4 separate regions of the Homo sapiens genome follow, and regions 1, 3 and 4 are each linked to region 2. Evidence: promoter capture Hi-C in 16 types of primary human blood cells and fetal thymus (Javierre and others, 2016). All regions are on one chromosome and are shown on one strand. Each heading gives the region's core, a stretch centred on a gene start or on the middle of the fragment in contact. The rest is flanking DNA. Distances are from core to core; before and after follow the strand shown. Region 1 overlaps ZNF559 (zinc finger protein 559). Region 2 holds the start of ZNF846 (zinc finger protein 846). Region 3 overlaps ZNF559-ZNF177 (ZNF559-ZNF177 readthrough). Region 4 overlaps LOC105372269 (a long non-coding RNA gene).

Region 1 (7,269 bases), core at 3,512-6,011, 430 kb before region 2:
GTGGAAGAAGTTCTGCTTAATCACATGATCAGTTTCTTTTTTGGCAAATAAGGAAAATGTTAACTTCTCTGGACTTTGTATTCCTTATAAAATGGGATTGTTAAACTCTCTCTCTCCTGGTCATCAAAGCCTGAAGCATATTTTCTGGCTTCAGGTGAGACAGGCTGCTCAGGCATTTTATTATAACGTGTGTGTGTCCACTTAGCATTAGTATGAGGTGGCTTCTTGCCTTGTGAGTATGGAAGCTATCAGCAGCCTGGATTCTCAGATTTTATTTCTTCTTCTTAAGATCATCTTTCTCAAGATGTTTTCTGTCTTCATGAGTCAAAATTTGAAGAGGAAAGGATGGTGGCTGGGTGGTTGACAAATTACTCTCAGGTAAGTAGGAAATTGCTTTTTCTGTAGAAGCATATGCTTCTTCCTACCATGTAGATGTGTTTTCTCCTAGTGGAACAGGGCCCCTGCAAGCAAAGAGGGTCTGCTTAGGGACCACATCTCTCATCAAACTTCTTCGGACCACAGGGCCTCTCACATGGTTGACAGGTTTCACAGGGAAATGATTGTACTATCCCACTGTTTACTAATTCAGTCTGACTGTCATCCATGCTGATATGCTTTCATTTTGCTGTGATAGGGAGAGAATGCACATGTGCTTCTCGGAATTTGTGCTGTCACTGGAGCATTTATTTGAGTGTCTATAATGTATTCAGGGTTGTGCTAAAACCTGTCAGTAGAGAACAATAAGAAGAAGTCACAATCTAGTTGTGCTGAGATATATTCAGTTAGGTGAAAGAGGTGCTCTTCAAGCCATATGACTAGATGAGATCACCGGTGAATATGTACAGACAGGGGAGAAGAAAGTGAGGACCATCAAGTGATAGGAGACCAAAGAGTCTTGTCAAGGCATGCCAAGACAAGGTCCCTCATTCTCCAGTCAACATAGTGGAGAACGTACTTGCCTGACGCCAGCATGTGTGTGATGGTTTAGGACTCAGTGACCTTTGAGGATGTGGCTGTGGACTTCACCCAGGAGGAGTGGACTTTGCTGGATCAAACTCAGAGAAACTTATACAGAGATGTGATGCTGGAGAACTATAAGAATCTAGTTGCAGTAGGTAAGGCTGGTACCATTCTTTTCATTTAGTTTTTTTCTGGAACAAATGTGTCTTAAGTAACTATGTTCTAGACTCTGCTTGTTAATGGGCTGCATTGGTAAACAGGCGAAACATTGTTTCCATCTCATAGACCTTACTGCCTTGTGATTTTTCTGATGAAATTGAAGATCTGTTCATTGTTCTAGCTTTATTTTCTCCATGGATAAAAGACTTAGAGCTTCTTGAATATGTGTATGAGCTTAAGCCTGGGTTTCATGGGAAGGATTGCTAGTCCTTTTGGTGAACAGTGAATGAGAAAAGAGTATTTGAAGTTTAGGTTCACTTGAAAGTTTTTGTCATGAACATTGTGTTGTAATTTAAGTTATATCTGAGAGGGTTCAGAATGCCCAGACAGCAAAATCTTAGCTCTTAACATGGAAGCATTTGTTATCCCTTGCACATTCTTTACTTTTTTTTTTTTTTTTTTTGAGACAGAGTCTTGCTCTGTCACCCAGGCTGGAGTGCAGTGGCGTGATCTTGGCTCACTGCAAGCTCCGCCTCCCGGGTTCACACCAGTCTCCTGCCTCAGCCTCCCGAGTAGCTGGGACTACAGGCGCCCACCACCACGCCTGGCTATTTTTTTTTTTTTTTTTTTTTTTTTGTATTTTTAGTAGGAACAGGGTTTCACTGTGTTAGCCAGGATGGTCTCGATCTCTTGACCTTGTGATCCGCCCACCTCGGCCTCCCAAAGTGCTCGGATTACGGCATGAGCCACTGTGCCCAGCCATCCCTTGCACATTCTAACATCATTCATCTTTCCCTGAGACCAGGGTACTAGCTATGCAAACATAGTTTGACTTTTCAGGTGAAACAAGAAGAGTTAAAGACAGCGCAGAAAATTCTCCAAGATGAGAGAAAAGACAGATGTGATTATTTGTGAGAAACAGCCCTGATCTATGAGAGGTGCAGTCTGTTTATAAATATTAAGTAGGAAGGTTTTGAAAGTGTACTTTTTTGGGGAGAATATCAAGGCCAATTGGTTTCCAAGGTTCCTTGGGTACCTTAACTTCTCTTTCACTTTATCCATCTTGGAAACTTTCTTTTGCTCTGACATTAAGATCTGTCTCACTTCTCCTTTAAATTTATGATTTGCATTTAGCTCTGTATCCATTTCCTTTCAACTTTGTTTCCCTGGCTGTACCTCTTTTTTGTTCACTATAAAGTCTCAATGTTTAGAGAACCATTTCTTTTTTTTCTCTCTCTGTCTCTAAAAAAAAAAAAAAAAAAAAAAAAGAGTCTTGCTCTATCGCCAGGCTGAAATGCAGTGGCGCGATCTCAGCTCACTGCAACCTCTGCCTTCCGGGTTCAAGTGATTCCCCTGCCTCAGCCTCCTGAGTAGCTGGGACTACAGGTGCATGCCACCTTGCCTGGCTAATTTTTTTTTTTTTTTTGTATTTTAGTAAAGATGGGGTTTCACCATATTGGCCAGGACTCAATCTCCTGACCTTGTGATCCACCTGTCTTGGCCTCCCAAAGTGCTGGGATTACAGGTGTGAGCCACCACACCCAGCCTAGAGAACCGTTTCTTAGTGAATCACCTACCAACTTGACCTCAGTACCTTACTGTTGCTAGACTCTTACTACATCCAAATTTCTCAATTTATGTTTCCCGTTCTTTAAAAAAACAAACTATATTTCAAGCCAGTGTTTGAAACTACAGTACATACTAGTCTTGCATTTTTAACACCCTTTTTAAAATCATTATTTCTCTAAGAACTTAAAATTTTTTTCATCTTATTTCAGATTGGGAGAGTCATATTAATACCAAATGGTCAGCACCTCAGCAGAATTTTTTGCAGGGGAAAACATCCAGTGTGGTGGAAATGGTAAGATTCAGAAGGTATAATTTATTGTCTTCCATGTTAGAGGAAGATTGGAAATTCCTTAAAATGGAAAAGCAGCACAATAACCTTGAGACATTTGAGACTAGTGTTTTTCACCCAAAAATAATCTGTCTCTTGGAGAGACTATGGATCATGAGTTTGACAAACACTCTAAACATCCCTCAGAATATATTTGTTTACATATTTCCTTCAACATTCCCATATGTATCTCAGATGTTTTTGATAAATAATTCACTCTTGGGCCGTTATCAGCTAAGCTCTATTTAGAAGCCCTCTGAAAGTAAAGAATATAACAGAACTTCCTGCAGTCACTTTGTTCCACTTGAAAACACTCAGGTCTGAACCATGCCTTGCAATGAAAATGGCAGGAACAAACAGTTTCAATTATACTAACTTATTTTCCATGTGTAACAGAATTCAGAGTAAAAGGGAGAATCTCAATGAAATAAATTTGGAAAACTTCTATGAACCATCATTAATTTTCACCAACAGGAGAGAAACCATTTTGGAGAGGAACTGTTTGACTTTAACCAATGTGAAAAAGCCTTGAGTGAACACTCATGCCTTAAGACTCACAGGAGAACTTACTTTAGAAAGAAAACCTGTGAGTGTAATCAATGTGAAAAAGCCTTCAGAAAACCCTCTATCTTTACTTTACACAAGAAAACTGATATCGGAGAGGAACTTCCTAACTGTAATCAATGTGAAACAGCCTTCAGCCAACATCTACATCTTGTTTGCAAGAAAACTAGCCAAAATCTACATCTTGTTTGCAAGAAAACTCACACTCAAGAGAAACCATATAAATGCAGTGACTGTGAAAAAGGCTTACCTTCCTCCTCACACCTCAGAGAATGTGTAAGAATTTATGGTGGAGAGAGACCATATACTCATAAGGAGTATGTCGAAACCTTTTCTCATTCTACAGCCCTTTTTGTACACATGCAAACTCAAGATGGAGAAAAATTCTATGAATGTAAAGCATGTGGGAAACCCTTCACTGAGTCGTCATATCTTACTCAACATTTAAGAACTCATAGTAGAGTGTTACCTATAGAACATAAGAAATTTGGCAAAGCCTTTGCTTTTTCCCCAGATCTTGCTAAACATATAAGACTTAGAACTAGAGGAAAACACTATGTTTGTAATGAATGTGGCAAAGAATTTACTTGTTTCTCAAAACTCAACATTCACATAAGGGTTCACACTGGAGAAAAACCGTATGAGTGCAACAAATGTGGGAAAGCCTTCACTGATTCATCAGGTCTTATAAAACACAGGCGAACTCACACTGGAGAAAAGCCTTATGAATGTAAGGAATGTGGGAAAGCTTTTGCTAACTCTTCACATCTTACTGTACATATGAGAACTCACACTGGTGAGAAGCCTTATCAATGTAAGGAATGTGGAAAAGCCTTTATTAATTCCTCTTCCTTTAAAAGTCACATGCAGACTCATCCTGGTGTAAAACCCTATGACTGTCAACAGTGTGGGAAAGCCTTCATTCGATCCTCATTTCTTATTCGACATTTGAGAAGTCACAGTGCAGAAAGGCCTTTTGAATGTGAGGAATGTGGGAAAGCCTTTAGATACTCCTCGCACCTTAGTCAACATAAAAGAATACATACAGGGGAGAGGCCATATAAATGTCAAAAGTGTGGGCAAGCCTTCAGTATCTCATCAGGCCTTACAGTACACATGAGAACTCACACTGGTGAACGGCCCTTTGAATGTCAGGAATGTGGGAAAGCCTTTACTCGGTCCACATATCTTATTCGACATCTAAGAAGTCATAGTGTGGAGAAACCATATAAGGAATGTGGGCAAACCTTTAGTAATTCCTCATGCCTTACTGAATGTGTGTGAATTGGGGCTGATACTTGGAAAGAATGTGGTAAAGCCACTACTTCCTCACACTTACTGAACATGTACTCATTCATAGTGGCAATGTACACAGTCATAAGGAATGTGGGAAGCCTTCCTTGGTGTCTCAGATCTTAACAATTCCAATAGAAGAGAAGACATATGAATGTAAGGAATGTGGGAAAATCTTGGCTCCTTCCATAGGCCTTACTATTCATGTGTCTGTGCATCCTAGGAAACAAACTGAACGTAGGAAACCTGTCGATGCTTACATCTTACTGAGTCTGTTTGAACTCATGCTGGAGAGAAATGCTATGAATGTGAGGAAGGTGGAAAAGCTTTCATTATTTTCCTCGGGCCTTACTGAGCTTGTGAGCACATTGGATATAAATGCACGTCCTCTGGCTGTAAGGAATGTGTTGAAACCTTTCACTCTGCCTTATACCTTAATATTCAGCTGTGATCTCACAAGTGTGAAAAATCTTATGAATGTAAAATGTGTGGAGATTCTTCTTTGTTTTTAGCTTCCACTTTGGGAACATGTCAAAGCACACATTGAGAAGTCCCATGAGTGAAAGAGATGTTGGAAAGCCCTTGAACTTGGTCGTTAGGAAACATCCACACTGAAGAGGAACCTGACTGTATGGAAGGTCAAAAAGGCTGTATTAATTTACATGCAAAAAGTCACACTAGAGGAATGCCATATCAGAATGCTTTTGGTAAATATACATGTTTTAAAGAGGTTATATATCATTAATAAAAATATCTAGCTGGTCTGAAGATCCTGAGTTATCTCAATTGTTCACGGTTACAGATGGAACTCTTTATTATTGAGGAGTTCCACTCTTTCCCCCATTTGTCACTACTACACTTCCCTAGTCTTTAAAACAATTTTAGGCTGGGTGCAGTGGCTCATTCCTGTAATCCCAGCACTTTGAAAGGCCGAAGCGAGTGGATCATTTGAGGTCAGGAGTTCGAGACCAGCCTGGCCAACGTGGTGAAACCCCATCTCTACTAAAAATACAAAAATTAGCCAGGCATGGTGGTACGTGCCTGTAATCCCAGCTACTCGAGAGGTTGAGGCAGAATTGCTTGAACCCGGGAGGCGGAAGCTGCAGTGAGCTCAGATCACGCCACTGCACTCCAGCCTGGATGATATGGTAAGACCATCTCAAAAAAAGAAAAAAAAATTAAAATATCCTCAGAGGGTTTTTTAATGAAAAACTTAGTTATAGGGAATTGAGGAACATTTAGGGGTACAAATTTTCACTTATTGCACACAAGAAAATTGGTACTGGCCAGGCATGCTGGCTCACACCTTAATTCCAGCAATTTGGGAGGCCAAGGCAGAAGGATCACTTGAGCCCAGGAGTTCAAGACCAGCCTGGGCAATATAGTGAAACCTCATCTTGACAAAGAATAAATAAGATTAACTGGGTGTACTGGTTTGTGCCTATAGTCCCAGCTATTTAGGAGGCTGGGGCAAGAGGATTGCTTGAGCCTGGTCAGGGAGGCAGAGGTTGCAGTGAGCCCTGATCGTGCCACTACACTCTAGCCTGGGCAACAGGATGAGACCCTGTCTCAAAAAAAAAAGAAAATTGACGCCAGCAAAGAAAACCAAATAAATTATTTAAGTTTGCCTTTCTATATGTCTTTAAAGACTAATGATATTGAACATCACTTTCATATGCTTATGAGTCTTTGGTGAAGTGTACATTTAATGATCTTTTTTCACTGTTGCTGAGAATCTTTGGTTTGAATTATTGAGGCAGGTTCTTTCAGTAAGTTTGAGATATAATTGCCATGTAATAAACTGCACATGTTTTTAGCATACACTTTAAGTTTGGACACATACACATATGTGTACATACACACCATCAAGATAATGAACATACCTATCAAACCAGATGGTTTCCTCATGCCCTTTTATAATTTCTTCTTCTCCTCACCCTTCCCTGCCTGTCACTCTCCTGATCCACTGATTTGCTTTCTCTTAGAATAGACGACTTTATATTATGTACAGTTTTTATATAAATGGAATCATATAGTCTGGCATCTTTCAGGATAATTTTTTCAGATCCATTTATGTTGTAGGGTCCATTTCACTGCTGAATAGTATTCCATTGCAAGGCATACCACAAGCTATTTATCCATGTGTTATTTCTACCTTTTGGCTATTGCAATTAAAACTGCCTTGAATACCCATATGCAGATTATTCTTTAAACATGTGCTTCTGTTTCTTTAAATAGTTAAGAGTGGAATGATCAGATCATATGTTAGTGTACGTTTAAGTTTTTAAGAGACTGCTAAACCTTTCTCAAGTAGTTATGCCATTTGACATTTCCATGAGCAGTATATAAGAGTTGCAATTCTTCTGCATCCTTGCCAATTATTGGTATGGTCAGTC
Region 2 (7,244 bases), core at 1,946-4,445:
TGTGCCTGTAGTCCCAGCAGCTGGGGAGGCTGAGGAAACAGAATAGCATGAACCCAGGTGGCAGAGTTTGCAGTGAGCCGAGATTGCACCACTGCACTCCAGCCTGGGTGACAGAGCAAGACTCCATCTCAAAACAAACAAACAAACAAACAAATAAAGCATTTCCATACCCTGCATTGCAGACATAGTCTTTTCCATGGCATGCCTCCCAATTGTAATACTATTCTGACACTTAATACTCTAATTGTCCAGGGGGTGGCTCATGCCTGTAATCCTAACCCTTTGGGAGGTTGAAGTAGAAGGATGCTTGAGGCCAGGAGTTAGAGACCATCCTGGGCAATATAGTGAGACCAAGTCTCTTTATTAAATAAATAAATAAACAAATAAATATACATATATATATATACACATATATGAAAACAAAGAATAAAAGAAAAAATACTCTAGTTGACTTTGCCTAGCAACTATCAGACAGTAAGAATACTTTTGTGTCTGGCTTCTTTCAGTCAGCATTATGCTGGTGAGGTGCACCCAAGTTGTTGTGTTCATCCACCTGTGATTTGGTTCATATCTTTGCTGAAGAATATGCCACAGAGGCTGGGCATGGTGGCTCACGCCTGTAATCCCGGCACTTTGGGAGGCCGAGGTGGGCAGATCGCTTGAGGTCAGCAGTTCAAGATCAGCCTGGTCAACATGGTGAAACCCCATCTCTACTAAAAATACAAAGAAAAATGGGTGGCTCACACCTGTAATCCCAGCTACTCGGGAGGCTAAGGCAAGAGAATCACTTGAACCAGGAAGACAGAAATTACAGTGAGCCAAGATTGCGCCACTGCACTCCAGCCTGGTGACAGAGCAAGACTCTGTCACAAAAAAAAAAAAAAAAAGCCACAGAAATATGCCACAATTCACCCATTCTGTGGATCCACATTTGGGTTGTTCCTAATTTAGGCTATTTCAAATAATGTGATAAATAACTTTTACATTTAGCCTGGCACACGTATGCATGTTGCATCACCAAGTCCATATTTAGTTGTCACTGTTTTAAAATGTAGCTGGGCATGGTGGCTCACGCCTGTAATCCCAGCACTTTGGGAGGCCGAGGTGAGTGGATCACAAGGTCAAGAGATGGAGACCATCCTGGCCAACATGGTGAAACCCATCCTGGCCAACATGGTGAAACCCCATCTCTACTAAAAATACAAAAATTAGCTGGGCATGGTGGCATGCACCTGTAGTTCCAGCTACTCGGGAGGCCAAGGCAGGAGAAGCACTTGAACCCGGGAGGTGGAGGTTGCAGTGAGCCGAGATCATGCCACTGCACTCCAGCCTGGCAACAGAGCAAGACTCTGTCTCAAAAAAAAAAAAAAAAAAGTGTTCTCTTCAGCAATGCATGCACATCTTAAAGAAGACTTGATATTGTCACTGACTTTAGTTATGCTTTTATTTATTTATTTTTTTTTTTGTAGAGATGGGGTCTCACTATGTTGTCCCAGCTTGTCTCAAACTCATAGCTTCAGTGGCTCCTCCTGCTTCTGCTTCCCAAAGTGCTGGGATTACAGGGGTGAGCCACTGTGCCCGGCCTAGTTTTATTTATTTATTTATTTATTTAGACGGTGTTTTGCTCTTGTTGCCCAGGCTGTAGTGCATTGCCACGATCTCAGCTCACCACAACCTCTGCCTCCCGGGTTCAAGCGATTCTCCTGCCTCAGCCTCCCGAGTAGCTAAGATTACAGGCATGCCCCACCACACCTGGCTAATTTTGTATTTTTAGTAGAGACAGGGTTTCTCCATGTTGGTCGGGCTGGTCTGGAACTCCCAACCTCAGGTGAACCGCCCACCTCGGCCTCCCAAAGTGCCAGGATTACAGGTGTTTAAGTTACCGCACCCGGCCAATACACATTGATCTACACAAGAGATGCAAAGAAACAGAAAACATGCAAAATATTAACAAATGATCAGTCTACAACAAGGATATATAATAGGTGTTCAATATTCTGGCCTTTCACATTTTCTTTGGTTTAGAATATTCAATCTACAGATAGCCTGGGCAACAAACCAAGACCCTGTCTTTAAAACGTAAATAAATAAATAAAAATATATGAGGGGGAAGGCCAGGCGCGGTGGCTTATACCTGTAATTCCAGCACTTTGGGAGTCCGAGGAGGGTGGATCACGAGGTCAGGAGTTCGAGACCAGCCCAACCAACATGGTGAAACCCCGTCTCTACTAAAAATGCAAAATTAGCCGGGCGTGGTGGCACATGCCTGTAATCCCAGTTACTCAGCATGCTGAGGCAGGAGAATCGCTTGGACCGGGAGACAGAGTTTACAGTGAGCCTATATCACGCCATTGCACTCCAGCCTGGGCAATAAGAGCGAAACTCCGTCTCAAAATATGTATATATACGAGAGGAAAAACGCTGAATCAAAACATGTCTCTTTCACAGTTAATACAACTGTAATTTCTGATACTGGTATAATGAAGGCGGCATCCTACTTCCTGGAAGCCCCTCCGTTTTGAAGCTCTTTGGGAGGTACTGACCTAGGAAGTTCAGCTGCTTTTGATCTCAAAAACACAGCGGAGTATTGCTACTTTGCTTTATAACTGTGGCAATATTTGCTTTTATTTCTATAAACCTACAACTCCTGCACACTTGACAAAGCATTTAACTGCTGAGCAATTTCGCAAACTTCAATAAGCGATGCCCTCCCACAGCCAGATCATCTCCTCCGTCCAGGGCTCACCGGAACGCACTGCAATCGCCCTGTCGGTGACAAGAGGACGCTGGGGCCCTTTTCCACAACAGCTGAGATGCTTTTCCTTCTGGAGAAAGGACACAAAGGTTGACTGGCTGCTTTTAAACAGAGGGGCACGGTGGTTGGAGAAAAAAACACGTCTCCACCGGGGACCCTGGGCCAGGCCCAGACTGATGCGGGCGCAGCGGGAAGAGGCGCTCAGAAGAGAAGGCGGGAACCCCCCGCCTCGGGGTCCTGGCGGGGAGGAGGCGCCGCTTCTCCGGAGCAGCAGCGGGAGGCCGGCGCGTCTCAGACCTAGCAGAAGTCCGGAGCGTCACCCTCCGACCCTCGCTCCGCCTCCCGCTAGGCCCTCCTGCCCCGCCCTGCCTAGGTTGAGCATGAGCGCTGGCTGAGGTGAAAACCCAGCTAGGAAGCTGCTGGAGAGCGGGGAATACGTATAGCTGCGCGCCGGCTGGCACTTCCGCTTCCGGTTGCGCACGGCATTAAGTGTAGGGGCCGAGCCCCAAGAGCTTTGGAATGAGGATGATGTGAAGCTGAGAGAAGAGCTGGGGCCACCTCTTCGACACGCGTACAGAAAAGTCCCGTTTTCTCGCATCCCAGGTGGACCAGGATCCAGATCAATCTGTCGATATTGGGAACGACGCCGGACCAGGAAACCCAGCGCCAAGGGCCGGGTTGGAGGCGGGGACTGGCGCAGCGGGCGGGGCACGCGTGGAGGCGTCACCTAAGGCTTCGATTGCAGACAGCGGGATGCTCATCGAGTGCTTTTCTTTTCTTTTTTAATTTCTCTTTTTAGTTTTTTGAGATAAGGCTCCGGTCTGTCGCCTAGGCTGGAGTGCAGTGGCTCGGTCATAGATCATTGCAGCCTGGAATTCCTGCGCTGAAGCTATCCTCCCGCCTCGGCCTCCGGAGTAGCTTGGACCACAGTTGGGCCCATCACGCCCAGCTAAGTTATCTTTTTCTAGACACTTGGGTCTCACTGTGTTCCCTAGGCTGGTCTCGAACTCCTGAGCCTAAAGGATCCTCCCCCCTCGGCCTCCCAAGCAGCTTGGACCACAGGTGTGTGCCACCACGCCTGGCTAATTTATTTTTATTTTATTTTTATTTTTTTGTAGAGACAGGGTCTCTCTTTGTTACCCAGGCTGATCTGGAACTCCTGGGCTCCAGTGATCCTTCCACCTTGGCCTCCCAAAGTGCTGGGATTATAGGCGTGAGCCACCACCCTAGGGAAATTCTTTTCTGCAGGATTTTCTCCTTGTTTCTTCAACCCTCTGCAGGGATATAAACATATTTACAAAGATAATCCCGCTGTAGTCCTAGCTACTGCGGGAGAATCGCTTGAGCCCAGGAGTTCGAGACCAGCGACACCCTGTTTGAAAGATTAACCTGATGGGGCTGGGGGCAGTGGCTCACGCCTGTAATCCCAGCACTTTGGGAAGCCGAGGCGGGTGGAACACGTGAGTTCAGGAGTTCGAGACCAGCCTGGCCAACATGCCGAAACCCCATCTCTACTAAAAATATTTTTTAAAAAATAGCCGGGTGTGGTGGTGGGCGCCTGTAATCCCAGCTACTCGAGAGGCTGAGGCAGGAGAATTGCTTGAACCTAGGAGACTGAGGTTGCAGTGAGCTGATACGATGCCACAGTACTCCAGCCTGGGCGACAGAGTGAGACTCCGTCTCAAAAAAAAAAAAAAAAAGATTAACCTGTTAATCCATAAAATGCTCTGTGCCTCTGATACATTCAGTTCCTTCTTTAGGCCTTTAGTTTTGTTGTGATACAATTATCATAGCATACAATTAACCTGTTTAAAGTGTACAGTTTCGTGGCTTTTTGTATATTCATATATTTGTGCATCGATCATCACAATCAATTTTAGAACATTTTCATGACCACAAAAATAAACCCAGTACCCTAGCCATGATCACCCAATCTGCTCATCCAGCCCCACCCCCACCCCCAGAGTCCAAAGCAACAGCTAATCTTTCTGTCTGTATAGATTGCCTACTGTAGATATTGCCTGTAGAATTAGAATATAAAACACGTGGTGTTTGGCTTGTTTCATTCAATGTTTTCAAGGTTCATCCAATTAGCATGTATCAGTACTTAATTTTTTTTTACTAAATAAGATTCCATTGTATGGCTGTATCATAACATCAGTTGTTGGATATTGGGTTTTCTCTTTTTTTTTTTTTTTTGGCTTTTTTGGATAATACAAGACGCATTTTAAGCAGTGGTCAAAGGAACATTCATATTCCTAAACACTTTTGTCAATAAAAATAAGAATAGCTGGGTGCAGTGGCTCACACCTGTAATCCCAGCATTTTGGGAGGCCGAGGCAGGCGGATCACCTGAGGACAGGAGTTTAAGACCAGCCTGGCCAACATGGTGAAACACGGTCTCTACTAAAAAATACAAAAACCAGCAGGGCGTGGTGGTGCGCACCTGTAATCCCAGCTTCTCGGGAGGCTGAGGCAGGAGAATCACTTGAACCTGGGAGGCGGAGGTTGCAGTGAGCTGAGATGGCGCCACGGCACTTCAGCCTGGGCAACTGAGCACAACTGTCTCAAAAAAATAAAAAATAAAAAATAAATCCCCAGCTCAAAAAATAAAACCTAGAAAAAGAATATAAATGTAAACCAAAATGGAAAAAGGTTTATTTATTTATTTATTTTTTATTTCAATAGCCTTTGGGAAACAGGTGGTTTTGGGTTACATGGATAAGTTCTTTAGTGGTGATTTCTGGGATTTTGGTGCACCCATCATCCGAGCAGTGTACAATGTACCCAATGTGTAGTTTTTTATCCACTTTTATCCCTCACCCTTCTCCCACCCTTCCCCCAGAGTCCCCAAAGTGCATTCTTTCTTTCTATCCTTTTTTGTTTTGTTTTGTTTTTTCTTTTTGAGATGGAGTCTCATTCTGTTGCCCAGGCTGGAGTGTAGTGACATGATCTTGGCAACCTCCGCCTCCCAGGTTCAAGCAGTTCTCTTGCCTCAGCCTCCTGAGTAAGTGAGATTACAGACATGCGCCACCATGCTTGGCTAATTTTTGTATTTTTAGTAGAGATGGGGTTTTCCCACGTTGGCCAGGCTGGTCTTGAACTGCTGGCCTCAAGTGATCCACCCACTTCGGCCTCCCAAAGTGCTGGGATAACAGGCGTGAGCCACTGCGCCCACCCAAAGTTCATTATATCATTCTTATGCCTTTGCATCCTCATAGCTTAGTTCCCACTTATAAGTGAGAACATATATATGGTTTTCCATTCCTGAGTTACTTCACTTAGAATAATAGTCTCTATCCAGGTTGCTCAGAATGCTATGACTTTCTTGCTTTTTATAGCTGAGTGGTATTCTGTGGTGTATATATACCACATTTTTGTTATCCCCTTATTAGTTGATGGGCATTGAGACTGGTTCCATATTTTTACAGTTGCAAATTGTGGGCTGTAAACATGTGTGTGCAAGTGTCCTTTTTTTTTTTCTTTTTTGAGATGGAGTCTCCACTCTGCTGCCAGGCTGGAGTGCAGTGGCCTATCTTGGCTCACTGCAACCTCCGCCTCCTGGGTTCAAATGATTCTCCTGCCTCAGCCTCCCAAGTAGCTGAGACTACAGGTGCACACCACCATGCCCAGCTAATTTTTGTATTTTTAGTAGAGACGAGGTTTCACCGTGTTGGTCAGGATGGTCTCGGTCTCTTGACCTCGTGATCCACCCACCTCAGCCTCCCAAACTGCTGGGAATACAGGTGTGAGCCACCATGCCCAGCCTGTTTCAGACATTTTTAAGACTATGTCCCATTCATTTAAAATACTATTTTTCCCCATTGAATTGTTTTGACACCTTTGTCAACCATCATTAGACTGTAAATGTGAGCTTAGATGTTTTAAATGGAGAATTATACCAAACCTTCCAAGTTCAAATATTCCCAGTGCTCCATAACTTAAGAACAATGAAAATGAAGAAATACTTCCTAATTCCTTTTATGAAGAAAGTATAACATTGATATAAAATGTGGTAGAGGCTGGGCATGGAGGCTCACACCTGTAATCCCAGCACTTTGGGAGGCCGAGGTGAGTGGGTCACCTGAGGTCAGGAGTTTGATACTGGCCTGGCAAACATGATGAAACCCTGTCTCTACTAAAAATACAAAAATCAGCCAGGTGTGGTGGCACGCACCTGTAATCACAGCTACTTAGGAGGCTGAGGCAGGAGAATCGCTTGAACCCAGGAGGCAGAGGTTGCAGTGAGCTGAGATCATACCGTTGCACTCCAGTGGTGACAGAGCAAGACTCCGTCTCAGAAAAAAAAAAAAAGTGGTAGAGTACAAAAAATGAAAAATTGCAGAACCATATCAATTATGAATATGGATTCAAATATGCTGTTAGCTATTAGCAAATAAAATACAAGACCACATTAAGAAAATAACTATCCCCACATGAAATTTAGCATAAAACAGCAGTATTAGTGCAGTTATTAGAAAATCCATTA
Region 3 (6,937 bases), core at 3,899-6,398, 390 kb before region 2:
GCTTTATTGCCCAGGCTAGTCTCAAACTCCTGGCTTCAAGGCATCCTCCTGCCCCAGCTTTCCAAAGTGCTGGGATTACTGGTGTGAGCCACTGTGCCGGGCCATAAATAGTTATGCTGTATTGTTTAAGGAATAATGACAAGGGGGAAGGTCTACATGTTCAGTACAGACACAAGCATTCATCTTTTTTCCACATATTTTTGATCTGTGGTCGAGTAGCCAACAGATACAGAGGGCTGACTGTATAATGAATTCTCATGTCCTTAACACCCAGCTTTGACAGTTACCAATATTTTGCACATCTTGCATCATCTAGCGCTGAGCTGTCCAATACAGTAGCCACTAGCCTCATGTGGCTATTGAAGTTTAAATGCTCATTTCAAGTATTCAGTAGCTATCCGTACATGATTAGTGGTTACTGTATTAGATACTGCAAATAAATATTGAATAATGCTGGGTTTTCCCCCCAGATTTGTTTTTAAAGCAAATTCCAGACATCCTGTCATTTCATCAGTATATTACTAACTGTGCATCTCTAGTTGGTTCATCACCACTACTCCATTATCCCACCTAACAAAGTCTGACGTTCCCTGATTGGCTACAGAATATCTTTTTACATTTGGTTTGTTCAAATGAGAATCTTAACAGGGTCCCAACATTTTTTTTTTATTTTAGACCCCTTAAGTTTCTATTGTGTCTGTTCTCTTCCTCCTCCCTTTTCATTTTTTTAATCCACTGATTTATTGAAGAAATAAAGTTATTTGTTCTTAAAATGTCCCACATCATATATGGATTTTGCTGACTGGTTTGTTTTCATTGCTTAACCTGGTTATCTTTGTATTTCTTATAAAGAGTAGTTAGATAGTTTGTCTAGCGTTTTAGGTTGATAAGTTATTTTTTTCTCAGCATACTGAAGACATTGTCCTGCTTTCTTCTGACGTCCATTGTTGCTGTTGAGATGTCAGCTATCAGTCTGTTTTTCCTTTTATAGGTGACCTGTGTTTTTCCCCTGGCTGCTTTGGAAATTATGGGAAAAAATCAAATACCAAGGAAGAAAAATCTATAATGAAATTAGATGTGGATTTCTTTTTATGTATTCAGCTTGGGGGCTTATGATACTTCTAGTACCCAAAGGTTAGTGTCTTTCACTAATTCAAGAAAATTGCTAGGTTTTCATCTAATAGTGCGATCAAAGTTCTGATCTGGTAGTTAATACTGGCACTGAATTTCTCATTTCAGTGAGTTTATTTTTCATTTCTAAAAATTGTTTTTTAAACTAACCATTTTATAGTATCTTAATCTATATCCATTCAAATTTTTATTAAGCTTTTATATATTTTAAAATATATCTAAAAGGGTAATATCCAAAGTGTTATGCTTTTTACCACCTGACACCTGTGTGTTAGCTATGTCTTACACATGGTACATTGTGTATTTGTGTTTCACAATTTCTTAAACTGTGCCTTCCTCAATTTACTTAGAACTTTGTATATAAGATTTTTTCTCAAGACCTGACTTAAAGTTGATTTTCCAGAGATAGGTCGATTTGCTTGCACTAGTTGCTTGGGGACAATGCCACTTAGGACCCTCTTTAAGTGAAATTATTCCCTTGAGGTTGTTTGAACTACAGAAATGAATTTGGACTGAAATCTAAAAGAGAGCACTTGTGTATACAGATCCTCAAGAGAGATTTGCTTTTTATTATACCTGATGGGTACAGTTCCTTGCTTCACGCTTTCATATGGAAATTTTACTTTCTTTTTAAAAAACTGTTCACTGTGGATTTTCAGTCATACCTAGGAATAGAGTGCTATAAAGCCACTATGTACCTACCACCCAGCTTCAATGATTGTCACCATTTTGCCATTCTTATTACATCTGTTCTCTCCCTTGCTTCCTTTCATCATTGAGCTTTCTTTTCCTTTTTTTTTTTTTTTTTTTTTTTTGAGATGGAGTCTTGCTCTGTCTCCCAGGCTGAGGTGCAGTGGCATGACCTCAGCTCACTGCAACTTCTGCCTCCCAGGTTCAAGCAATTCTCCTGCCTCCCCTCCCGAGTAGCTGGGATTACAGGCACCTGCCACCACACCTGGCTAATTTTTGTATTTTTAATAGAGAAAGGGTTTCACCATGTTGTTCAGGCTGGTCTTGAACCTCCTGACCTCAAGCAATCCACCCACCTTGGCCTCCCAAAGTGCTGAGATGACAGGCGTGAGCCACCACACCCTGCCAGTTTTGTTTTTCTGAAGCATGGTTTTCCAGCTTTCTTGAGGTATAATTGACAAATAATAAAAATTATATATGTTTAAGGTGTACAACATAATGTTTTGATCTACCTGTCCATTCTGAAATGATCATCACAGTCAAGCTAATTAACATATCCATCCCCTCACTTACTTTTGTAAGATGCACTCTCTTGGAAAATTTCAAATATACAGTACATCATTAACTATAGTCACCAAGCCATACATCAGGTCTCCAAAACTCAGCCATCTTATAACAGCAAATACATACCCATTGACCAACATCTCCCCATTTCCCTTGCCCCTTGGTAATCACCTTTCTAATGCTTCTAGGAGTTTGACTTTTCTAGATTCCATGTAAGTGAGGTCATGCGGTATTTGTCTATGTCCGCCTTATTTTACTTAGCATGATGTTCTCCAGGTTTCCTTCTTTTTTAAGACTGAATAACCCACTGTGTGTATATATATGACATTTTCTTTACGCATTCAGCAATCGACAAACACGTTGTTTCCATATAGCAGCTATTATAAATAATGCTGCAATGAATATGAGGTCACAGATACCTCTTTAAGATATTGATTTCACTTCCTTTGGTTATATACCCAGTAGCAGGATTGCTAGATCATATGGTAGTTCTATTTTTAATATTTTGAGGCACCTCCACTACTGCTTTCCATAATGGCTGTACCAATTTTCACTTCTAACAACGATGTATAAGGGTTCCCTTTCTCCACATCCAACACTTGTTATCCTTTGACTTTTTGATAATATCTATTATAACAAGTGTGAGGTAGCAGCCAACTATGGTTTTGATTGGTACGTCCCTAATAATGTGATGTTGGGCACTTTTTCATATACCTACTGGCCATTTTTATTTCTTCTTTGGAAAACTGTCTATTTAGATCCTTTACCCATTTTTTATTCCATTTTTTTCTATCGAACTGTATGTATTTCGTAAATATTTTAAATATTGTGCAGATTCTTTCTCCCATTCCATAAGGTTGCTTTTTCATTTTGTTCATTATTTCCTTTGCTGTGCAGAAACTTTTTAGTTTGATGTAGTTTCACTTATTTTTGCCTTTCTTGCCTGTGCTTTTGGTGTCAACTCTTTAAAAAAAAAATTTGTCAAAATTAATATCAAAGAGCTTTTCCCCTGTTCTAGAAGTTTTATGATCTCAGGTCTTACATTTAAGTCTTTAATCCATTTTGAGTTGATTTTTGTTTGTAGTTTAAGGATCTAATTTCACTTTTTCACATGTGGATATCTAGTTTTCCTTACACCATTTGCCGAAGAGACTGTCCTCTCCCCATTGCTTATTCTTGGCATCTTTGTCCAAGATTAGTTGACCATACATGCCAGGGTTTATTTCTGGGCTTCCTATTCTGTTACATTTGTCTCCGTTTTTATGCCAGTACCATACTATTTTCATTACAGTACCTTTGTAATATATTTGAAATAAGGAAGTGTGATGCCTCCAGTATTGTTCAAGATTGCTTTAGCTATTTGGAGTTTTTGTGTTTCCATATGAATTTTAGGATTGTTTTTTCTATTTCTGTAAAAAATATCATTGGAATTTCATAGGAATTGCATTAATTTGTAGATCACCTTTCATAGTGTGACATTTGACAATATTGATTCTTCCAATCCATGAACACTGGGTGGCTTCCCATTTGTTTGTGTCTTCTACTTTCACCAGTGTTTTAGAATTTTCAGTGTTGAGATCATCTCCTTGGTTAAATTTATTGTCAGTATTTTACTCTTTTTGATATTATTATAAGTGAAATTATTTTCATAGTTTTTTTTAGATAGTTTGTTAGAAATACATTTAATTTTTGTATGTTGATTTTTTTTTACCCTGCATTACTGAATTTACATGTTAGTTTTAACATTTTTTCATGGTGTCTTTAGGGTTTTCTAGATACAATATCATGTCATCTACAAACATAATTTTACTTCTTTTCCAACGTAGACGCCTTTTGTTTTCTTGCGTAATTGTTCTGGCTAGAACTTCAGTTGTATGTTGAATAGAAGTGGTGAGGATGGGCATCTTTGCCTTGTTCCCAATCTTAGAGGAAAAGCTTTCAATTTTTTATAATTGGCTGTAAGCTGTGGTTTTGTCACCTATGGCCTTTACTGGTGTTGAAGTACTTTCCTTCTGTAACTAATTCGTTGAGGGTTTTTATCACAGAAGAATGCTGAATTTTACCAAGTGCTTTTTCTTCATCTATTCTAATGATGATATAGTTTTTATCCTTCATTCTGTTGATGTGATGTATCACATTGATTTTGCGTATCTTGAACTATCCTTGAATTTCTGGGATAAATCTCACTTGATCATGGTGTATGGTCCTTTTAAGGTACTGTTGAATTTGGTTTGCTAGTATTTTATTGAGGAGTTTTGCATCTATTTTCAGTAGGGATATTGGCTTGTAGTTTTTTGCTCTTACAGTGTTTGTCTGGCTTTGGTATCAGTGTAATGCTGACCTCATAAAATGAGTTTAATGAGGAGTTTGGTTGGGCTCCTTTTCCATTTTTTTGGAAGAGTTTGAGAAGGATTCTTTAAATGTTTGGTAGAATTCAACGGTGAAGCCACCAAGTCCTGGGCTTTTCTTTGATGGAAGATTTTTCCTCACTGATTTAATCTCCTTACTCATTATTGATCTTGTCAGGTTTTCTATTTATGATTCAGTCTTAGCAGGTTATATATTTCTAGGAATTTATTCATTTCTTCTAGGTTATCCAATTTTTTGGCATATAATTTTTCATTATGGTCTCATGATCCTTTATATTTCTGTGGTTATCAGTTGTAATGCCTTCTCTTTCATTTCTAGTTTTACTTCAGTCTTGTCTATTTTAATCTTAAGTAGTCTGGCTAAAGGTTTTTGTTGGTTTATCTTTTCATACAACCAACATTCAGTTTCATCGATCTTTTCTATTGTCTTCCTAGTCTCTCATTTATTTCTGCTGCGATCTTTATTATTATTTCCTTCCTTGTACTGACTTTGGGCTTAGTTTCTTTTTCCTTCTACTGACTTTGGGCTTAGCTGCTGCTTTTTCTAGTAACTTGAGGTGTAACATTAAGCTGGTATAAGATCTTTCCTACTCACCCTTGCTCTCTTTGGTTTCCATTTACGTGGAATGTCTTTTCCCATCTTTTTACTTTCGGGCTACATGCATTCTTAAAGCTATAGTGAGCTTCTTGTAGGCAGCATATACCTTAGGTCTTTCTTTTTTAATCCAGTCAGCCACTATGTGTTTTGACTAGAGAACTTAATCCATTTACTTTTTTGTTTAAGGAGATAGGGTCTCTGTCACCCAGGCTGGAGTGCAGTGGCATGATCATACTCCCACTACTCTCAGATTCAAGCAATCCTCCCACCCTAGCCCACCAAGTAGCTGGGACTACTGGCAGATGCCACCACACCCAAATAATTTTTTTAAATTGTTTTCTGTAGAGATGCGGTCTTGCTGTGTTGCCTAGGCTGGTCTCAAACTCCTGCTCTCAAGTGATCCTCCTGCCTCAGCCTCCTGAGTACATTTATATTTAAAGTAATTATTGATGGGTAAGTACTTACTGTTGCCTTTTTGTTCATTCTTCTGTGGCTGTTGTACAGATGTTTTGTTGCTTTCTTCCTCCCTTGTCTTCCTTTGTGATTTGATGACTTTCTGTAGTGATACGCTTTGATTTCTTTCTCTTTTCTCCATAATATAGGTTCTTGCTTTGTGGCTACTATGAAGCTTAAAACATCCTGTAGTTTTAATAGTCTGTTTTAAGCTGTTAACAGCTTAGCTTTGATTGCATACAAACAATTTATACTCTTCCATTTCCCACATTTTATGTTTTTGATGTCACAATTTACATCTTTCTATATTGTATATTAACAAATTATTATAACTTTTTAATATTTTTATCTTTTAATCTTTTACACTAGAGATAAGTTATTTAGATACCACTGTTACAGTATTAGGGTAATCTGGATTGAGTATATAATTACCTTTACCCCAGTGGGTTTTATAATTTCATATGGTTTCATGTTACTAAGTGTCCTTTCTTTTAAGCTGAAGAATTTACTATTTCCTATAAATCAGCTCCATTACTGATGAAGCCCCTCATCTTTTGTTTGTCCAAGGAAGTTTTTATCTCTCCTTCATTTCTGAAGGCCATTTTTGGCAGGTAAAACATTCTTGGTTGGCAGTACAGTCATGCACTGTGTAAAGACATTTTGGTCAGTGATGGTCCACATATGTGACAGTGCTCTCATAACATTTTAATAGTGCTAAAAAATTCCAATCACCTAATGACATAGCCAGTGTAACATTGTAAAGCACATTACTCACATGTCTGTCATTTAAACCTGCTGCACTGCCAGTCATGTAACAGTAGTAAATATGGTTATGTACAGTAGATTATATACAGTACATAATAATGAATAGTAATAAGTGACCACATTACTGGTTTATATATTTTTATACTATTTATTGTTATTTTAGAATGTATTCCTTCTACTTACTAAAAAAGAAAAGTTAACTCAAAAACAAGCCTCAAGCAGATGCTTCAGAAGACATTCTAGAAGTCATTGTCACCATAGGAGATGTCAGCTCCGTGCATGTTATTGCCCCTGAATACCTTAAGTGGGACACGGTAGAAGGTGTCAGACAGTGATACTCAAGATCCTAACCCTATTTAGGCCTAGA
Region 4 (7,731 bases), core at 3,150-5,649, 320 kb before region 2:
CGCAGAATCACCATGCACACACACAGAGAAACGCGCACACACACACAGTTCCTGTGCGTGCAGATGGTGTGACCTGGGAGCTTGAGCAGCTGGCTGCACGCAGGTAACAAACAAACTAAGAGGGCAGAAGTCTAAGAAAGTATTTCACATAGCCATCCAAAGAAACTTTAAGGTGTTCCTTTTCTCTCAGCCCTTAAAAAATGTCATTTAATTTGCTCTTTGCCTTTATGGTGGTGTGTTTTTTTGTTTTTTTGTTTTTTGTTTTTTGAGACAGAGGCTCACTCTGTCACCCAGGCTGGAGTGCAGTGGCGTGATCTCGGCTCACTGTAACCTCCACCTCCCAGGTTCAAGTGATTCTTGTGCCCAGCCTCCCCAGTAGCTAGTATTATAGATGTGTGCCACCACGCCCAGCTCATTTTTGTATTTTTAGTAGAGACAGGGTTTTGCCATATTGGCCAGGCTGGTCTTGAATTCCTGACTTCAAGTGATCTGCCCACCTCAGCCTCCAAAAGTGCTGGGATTACAGATGTGAGCCATTGGTGGGTTTTTTTGCTTGTTGTTTTGAGACAGGGTCTTGCTGTCACCCAGGCTGGATGACAGTGATGTAATCATAGCTCACTGCAGCCTTGAACTCCAGGGCTCAAGTGATCCACCTTGGCCTCCCAAAGTGCTGGCATTACAGGGCATGAGTAACCATGCCCAGGCCTTTATAGTTTCTATAAGAAATCCACAGTCGGCCAGGAGTGGTGGCTCATGCCTATAATCCCAGGCCAAGGCGGATTGATTATGAGGCCAGGAGTTCGAGACCAGCCTGGCGAACATAGTGAAACCCTGTCTTTACTAAAAATACAAAAAATTATATGGGTGCGGTGGCAGGCACCTGAATCCCAGCTACTCGGGGGGCTGAGGCAGGAGAATCGCTTGAATCCGGGAGGTGGAGGTTGCAGTGAACCGAGATTGTGCTATTGCACTGCAGCCTGGAGTGTGAGACTCCATCTCAGAAAGAAAGAAAGAGAGAAGGGGGGGAGAAGAAAGAAAGAAACAAAGAGAAAAGAACGAGGAAAGAAAAAGAAAGAGAAGAAGGAAGGGAAGAAAGGAAAGAGAAAAGAAAAAAAAAAAGGAAGGAGAAGGAAGGGAGAAAGGAAGGAAGGAAAAAAGAAAGAAGAGAAGAGAGAGGGAAAGGAGGAAAGGAAAGGAGGGGAAAGAAGGGAGGGAAGGAAAAAGAAATCCACAGTCAACTGAACTGTTCTTTTATTTATTTACTTTGAGACAGGGTCTCAAAGTACTACAGGCACATGCAACCACACCCAGCTAATTTTTTTGTAGGGGTGGGATTTTTCCATGTTGCCTAGACGGGTCTCGAACTCCTGGGCTCAAGTGATCTGCCTGCCTTACCCTCCCAAAGTATTGTTGGGATTTATAGGCATGAGCCACGAAATGTTCTCTTATAAGTAACATGTTATTACTTCCCAGGCTAATTTCAAGATGTTCTACTTATCTTTAGCTTTCACAACTTTAATTATTATATGTTTTGGCTTATATTTCTTTGGGGTTATGTTTTGGGTTCATTAAATTTCTTGAATCTGAATATTTGTGTCTTTCATCAAATTTGAGAAGTTTTTCATCATTACCTTTTCAAAAACTTACTGCATCACACATCTTCTTCTTCTTTTAGGACTCTAATATCATGAATGTTAGCCTTTTGTACTGTTACACAGCCCTGTGAGGCTCTGCTGCTAGTATGCTGAATAGTTTGGGTTTATATTCAGGGCACTTTGAATATTATAACACTCTGGGCCTTTAAGTCCTATGGAGAACGTAGATTTTTTTTTTTTTTTTTTGGATGGAGTCTAGCTCTGTCGCCAGGCTGGAGTGCAGTGGTGTGATCGTGGCTCACTGCAACCTCCGCCTCCCGATTCAACCGATTCTCCTGCCTCAGCCTCCTTAGTAGCTGGGATTACAGGCATGTACTGCCACGCCCAGCTGATTTTTGTATTTTTAGTAGAGACGGGGTTTGACCATGTTGGCCAGGATGGTCTCGATCTCTTGACCTCGTGGTCCACTCGCCTCGGCCTCCCAAAGTGCAGGGATTAAAGGCATGAGCCACTGCACTCAGCTGATTTTTTTTTTTAATCTGGACAATTACCCAGTTGGGTTCAGCTTGCAAGTTTTAGTCAACGCTCTGAGTTGTGGTTTCAATGAGAGCTTTATTTTCAAAGATTTTGTTGTATGCTTTGTGTCTCTACCTGGAGGCTAGACTACACAGAAGGTCATCTATCTCACATTCCAGCTCTCAAAGTCTATGGTATGTCTCATTGCCACCACAGGATTGCTTGGAGGCTGGAACCAAGTAAATGGAGAAAACAAACTGAGGTATTAATCTCCCTCTCTTTCTCACTGAGCATTAGAAACCACCCCTCCCACCCCCTTGTTGATATTACCAGAACCAGAGGGCTTCTTCTGGAACTCTCCATGTTGGTCATGATGTGTGCCTCTGGTTTTTCAGCCACACTGAGTACAGACCAGATGAAACCAGAAGGGGTAAAACTAGTAAACTTACTGCCTGCTTGGTGGTACTTTGAACGCTGATTTTTTTTTCCATCTCCCTGCTGCTATTTACTTTTCAGATTCTTCAAATAGCTGATGCATTCTGTCCAGGTGGGACATTCAGTGGGACAGACAGGATAACTGCATTTACTCCACCTTTCCCTAAACCAGAACCAATTTTGCCAAGTCATACACACACACACACACACACACACACACACACACACACACACATAAAATATAGGATGCATTCTCTTGTTACTTCTGGTTTCTTTCACAACATCATGTTTGTGAGATTCATCCACGTTAGGGGGTTTACCTGTATAGTAGGCAGAATTCTGAGATGGTGCTTATGAGTCCTGCACTCTGGTATGCCTTGGTATAATCCCCTCCTGTTGAGTGTTGGTAGGATAAACAGTTTCCTCCTAATCAAGAAAATATAGCAAAAGTGATGCAATGTCAGTCAACTGTATTACATTATGTGGCAACAATGAAGGAATTTTCCAGATACAATTCAAGTCCCTATTCAGTCGATTACACATTACACAAAGCGAATAATCTCCTAGAATATTCCTAGGAGAACTTGATTTACTTATAGTATAGAGATATCTAGAGATATTCACCTGACAAAATTAGATGAGTCCCTTCAAAGGGGATTTGGATATCAGTGACTAAAAAATAGCAGACAGCTGGATGCCATGGCTCACACTTGCACTTTGGGAGGCCGAGGTGGGCAGATCACAAGGTCAGGAGTTCGAGACCAGCCTGGCCAATATGGTGAAACCCCATCTCTAGATAAAAATACAAAAATTAGCTGGGCATGGTGGCGCGTGCCTATAGTCCCAGCTACTCGAGAGGCTGAGGCAGGAGAATCGCTTGAACCTGGGAGGCGGAGGTTGCAGTGGGCCAAGATCACGCCACTGCATTCCAGCCAGGGCAACAGAGCGAGACTCCGTCACAAAAAAAAAAAAAAAAAAAATAGACATACTCTCTGTTGCTGGCATTGACAAAATAAGCTGTAAGGAATTCTACAGCCATAACAAAATTAATTCTACCAACAATCTGACACAGATTAGAAGCACATTCTTCTATATTTTAGCCCCAACCCTCTCCAGATGAGAAGGAAACTGTAAGAATTCTGCCACCATGAAAAAGCTGAATGTTGTGACACCACCAAAGGGTCACTCTCACTCTACAGCAATGGTCCCTTTCCAAAATGGAGGCACAGAGATGACAGGTGGAGAATTCAAAGCTTGGCCTACAGGGAAGCTCAGCTAGATCCAAGACAAGATTGAAAATCAACACAAACATAAAGCAATCAACAAAATAAGAAATAAACATCTTAAGAAGTAATTAATCAAAGCTACAGGAACTGAAAACCTCACTTAAGGAATTTTAAAATAAAATTGAAAGCTTCATCAACAGACTACACCAAGCAGAAGAATTTCAGAGCTTGAAGACTGGTCTTTCAACTAACCCAGTCAGACAAACACAAAGAAAAAAATGTAAGGAACAAAGTCCCCAAGAAATATGGGATGATGTAAAGTGATCAAATTTACAAATAACTGGCATTCCAGGGAGAGAAAGAGAAAAAGTAAGCAACCTGGAAACCATACTTGAGAGAATAATTTAAGAAAATTTCCCTAATTGTGCTAGAGAGGTAGCCATCCATATGTAAGAAATCCAGACAACACCTGCCAGATACTACATAAAATGAACACCACGAAGACATACAGTCACCAGCCTAAGGTCAACGCTAGAGAAAAAAGCTTAAAGGCAGCTAGAGGAAATGGCACATCAGGTACAAAGGGAATCTCGTCATCAGGCTAATAGCAGACTCCTCAGGAGAAACCCTACAAGCCAGAAAAGACTGGGGGCCTATTTTCATCATTCTTGAAGAGGAAACTCAAACCAAGAATTTCAAACCTGACCAAACTAAGCTTCATAAGAGTAGAATAAACATTTCTAGAGACAAGCAATCACTAAGGGATTTCATTACCAGTAGACCAGCCTTACAATAAATCCTTAATGGAGTTTTTGTGTGTGCGTGTGGCGGGGGGTTTGTTTGTTTGTTTTTCAGACATTTCACTCTTGTTGCCCAGGCTGGAGTGCAATGACACGATCTTGGCTCATGGTAACCTCTGCCTCCTGGGTTCAAGTGATTCTCCTGCCTCAGCCTCCGGAGTAGCTGGGATTACAGGCATGCACCACCATGCCTGGCTTTTTTTTTTTTTTTTTTTTAGTGGAGACAGGGTTTCTCCATGTTGGTCAGGCTGGTCTTGAACTCCTGACCTGAGGTGTCCACCCTCCTCAGCCTCCCAAAGTGCTGAGATTACAAGCATGAGCCACCTCACTTGGCCCCTTAACGGAGTTCTAAACATGAAGACGAAAGAATGATACCTGCTACCACAAAACAACCAAACCTAAGTACGCAGCCCACAGACCTTTTGAAGCAAAAACAAAATAGAAACTATAAAACAACCACCTAACAGCTTCATAATAGGATCAGATCCTCACATATCAATATTAGCCTTGAATGTAAATGGTCTTACCACCCCATTTAAAAGGGACAGAGTGGCAATCTGGATAAAAACGACAAGTACTATCCTTCTGAGACCTATCTCACACATATGAGACACCCATGGACTCAAAAAGTGGGAGAAAGAGCTATCATGCAAATGCAAAACAAAAAAGAGCACGGATCATTATTCTTTTGTTGGATAAAATAGACTTTAAACCAACAACAGGAAAAAAGGACAAAGAGCACTATATAATGATAAAGGGTTCAATCCAACAAGATGACTTAACCTTCAACATTGGAGCATTCGCATTCATAAAACAAGTACTTCTAGACCTACAAACAGACAGCCAAACAAGAATAGTGGCAGACTTCAACACCCCACTGGCAGTGTTAGATCACTGAGGCAGAAAACTAACAAATTCTGGACTTCAATTTGAAACTTCACCAATTGGACTTAATAGATATCCACAGAACATTCTACCCATCAACCACAAAATACATATTCTTCTCGTCTGCACACAGAACACTCAAAGACCACATTCTCAGCCATAAAGCAAGTCTCAATAAATTCATTCAAAATTTGAAAATCATACCAACCATACTCTCAGACCACAGTGAAATAGAAATAAAAATAAAGATCAATACCAAGATCTGTCAAAATCACACAATTACATGGAAATTGAACAACTTGCTTCTGAATGACTTTTGGGTAAACAGCTAAATTAAGGTGGAAATTTAAAAATTCTTTGAAATTAATGAAGGCAAAAAAACAAGATACCAAAATCTCTGGGATGCAGCTAAAGCAGGGTTAAGAGAAATGTTTAGAGTGCTAAAACACCTACAGCAAAAACTTAGAAAGTCAGCACCATATGAAGTGAAAAAAACAAAAAAGGAACATACCTCAAAATAATAGAGCCATCTATGACATAGCTGCAGCCAACATCATACTAAATGGGCAAAAGCTGGAAGCACCCCACTTAAGAACTGAAAAGGCTGGGCACAGTGGCTCATGCCTGTAATCCCAGCACTTTGGAAAGTCAAGGTGGGTGGATCACCTGAGGTGAGGAGTTCGAGACCATCCTGGCTAACATGGTGAAACCTCGTTTCTGCTCAAAGTCCAAAAATTAGCCAGGTGTGCCAGTCTGTGCCTGTAATCCCAGTTACTTGGGAGGCTGAGGCAGGAGAATCACTTGAACCCAGGAGGCGGAGGTTGCAGTGAGCCAAGATTGCGCCATTGCACTGCACTCCAGCTTGGACAACAAGAGCAAAACTCTGTCTCAAAAAAAAAAAAAAAAAAAAAAAACAACTGAAAAAAGGCCAGGCACGATGGCTTGTGCCCGTAATCCCAGCACTTTGGGACACTGAGGCAGCTGGATCATGAGGTCAGGAGTTCAAGACTAGCCTGGCCAAGATGGCGAAACCCTGTCTCTATTAAAAATACAAAAATTAGCTGGACGCAGTGGCAGGCGCCTGTAATCTCAACTACTCGGAAGGCTGAGGCAGGAGAATCATTTGAACCCGGGAGGCGGAGGTTGCAGTGAGCCGAGATCGCGCTATTGCACTCCAGCCTGGGTGATAGGGCAAGACTTTGTCTCAAAAAAAAAAACTGAAAAAAGAAAAGGATGCGCACTCTAACCACTGCTATTCAACATAGTACTAGGAGTCCCAGCCAGAACAATCAAAGAAATAAAAGGCACGCAAATAGGACTATTTGTCTTCACTGATGATATGAGTCTGTACATAGAAAACTCTATAAGACTCTGACAAAAGGCCCCTGGAGCTGATAAACAACTTCAGAATTTAGAAAACTCAATTCAGTTCTGGATACAAAATCAATGTATAAAAATCAGCATTTATTTGTTTGTTTATTTATTTTTAAAGATACAGTCTCGCTGTTGCCCAGGCTGGAGTGCAGTGGCACGATCTCGGCTCACTGCAACCTCTGCACATCAGCCTCCCGAGTATCTGGGATTACAGGCATGCAGCACCATATCCAGATAATTTTTATATTTTTAGTAGAGACAGGGTTTCACCATGTTGCCCAGGCTGGTCTTGAACCCCTGCCTCCAAGTGACCAGTCTGCCTCAGCCTCCCAAAGTGCTGGGATTACAGGCATGAGCCACCACACCAAATCACCATTTCTGTACACCAATAGTGTTCAAGCTGAGAGCCAAATCAAGATGCAATCTCATTTACAATAACCACAAAATAAAATACCTAGGAATACATCTAACCAAGGAGGTTAAAGTTTCTGCAAGAAGAACTACAAAACAACACTGCTGAAAAACAATGGAAAAACACCCCATGGTCATGGACAGGAAGAATCAGTATCATTAAAATGGCCATAGTGCCTAAAGCAATCTGCAGATTCAACACTATTCCTATCAAACTCTCAATGTCATTTTTCAAAGAATTAGAAAAAAAAACTATTCTAAAATTTATACAGAACTGAAAAAGAGCCCAAATAGCCAAAGCAATCCTATGCAAAAAGAACAAAACCAGAGACGTCACCCTACCTGATTCCAAACTACACTACAAGCCTACAGTAACCAAAATAGCATGGTACTGTTACAAAAACAGACACATACACCAATGGATCAAGGTTAAAAAATAAAAGAAGCCACATACCTACAACCATCTGATCTACAAAGTAGACAATAACA

Evidence for each region. Contacts are between HindIII fragments. The CHiCAGO score rates a contact against its expected background, and 5 or more counts as called.
Region 1: a fragment that was not itself captured here is called in contact with the fragment with the promoter of ZNF846 in region 2 in 1 of 17 cell types (naive CD8 T cells); the score reaches 5.0 in naive CD8 T cells.
Region 3: a contact is called between a fragment that was not itself captured here and the fragment with the promoter of ZNF846 in region 2, in 1 of 17 cell types (naive B cells). The highest score is 5.6, in naive B cells.
Region 4: a contact is called between a fragment that was not itself captured here and the fragment with the promoter of ZNF846 in region 2, in 1 of 17 cell types (naive B cells). The highest score is 5.5, in naive B cells.

What each region holds. Positions count from the first base shown.
Region 1 is chr19:9,338,205-9,345,473 of GRCh38, forward strand. It overlaps ZNF559 (zinc finger protein 559), which reads left to right. Exons shown (of 7, transcript NM_032497.3): 4 at 290-378; 5 at 989-1,115; 6 at 2,898-2,980; 7 at 3,491-7,269. The coding sequence starts at 346. The coding sequence ends at 4,864. ZNF559-ZNF177 (ZNF559-ZNF177 readthrough) reads left to right here. Exons shown (of 13, transcript NM_001384659.1): 4 at 290-378; 5 at 989-1,115; 6 at 2,898-2,980. Among named protein-coding and RNA genes, the nearest start is that of ZNF559-ZNF177, 18 kb to the left of the region's middle. The HindIII fragment of the contact is 871 bases long and covers 4,327-5,197 here.
Region 2 is chr19:9,765,543-9,772,786 of GRCh38, forward strand. ZNF846 (zinc finger protein 846) reads right to left here and starts at 3,196. Exons shown (of 6, transcript NM_001077624.3): 1 at 2,747-3,196. RefSeq lists a silencer at 3,011-3,180 and enhancers at 3,124-3,989, 3,261-3,480. The HindIII fragment of the contact is 9,482 bases long and covers 1-7,244 here.
Region 3 is chr19:9,370,619-9,377,555 of GRCh38, forward strand. It overlaps ZNF559-ZNF177 (ZNF559-ZNF177 readthrough), which reads left to right. Exons shown (of 13, transcript NM_001384659.1): 8 at 5,698-5,805. It overlaps ZNF177 (zinc finger protein 177), which reads left to right. Exons shown (of 8, transcript NM_001172651.2): 3 at 5,698-5,805. Among named protein-coding and RNA genes, the nearest start is that of ZNF177, 11 kb to the left of the region's middle. The HindIII fragment of the contact is 1,660 bases long and covers 4,319-5,978 here.
Region 4 is chr19:9,443,628-9,451,358 of GRCh38, forward strand. The region is part of intron 1 of LOC105372269 (a long non-coding RNA gene); the gene reads left to right. It also overlaps a transcript of ZNF560 not described here. Among named protein-coding and RNA genes, the nearest start is that of ZNF266, 12 kb to the left of the region's middle. The HindIII fragment of the contact is 171 bases long and covers 4,315-4,485 here.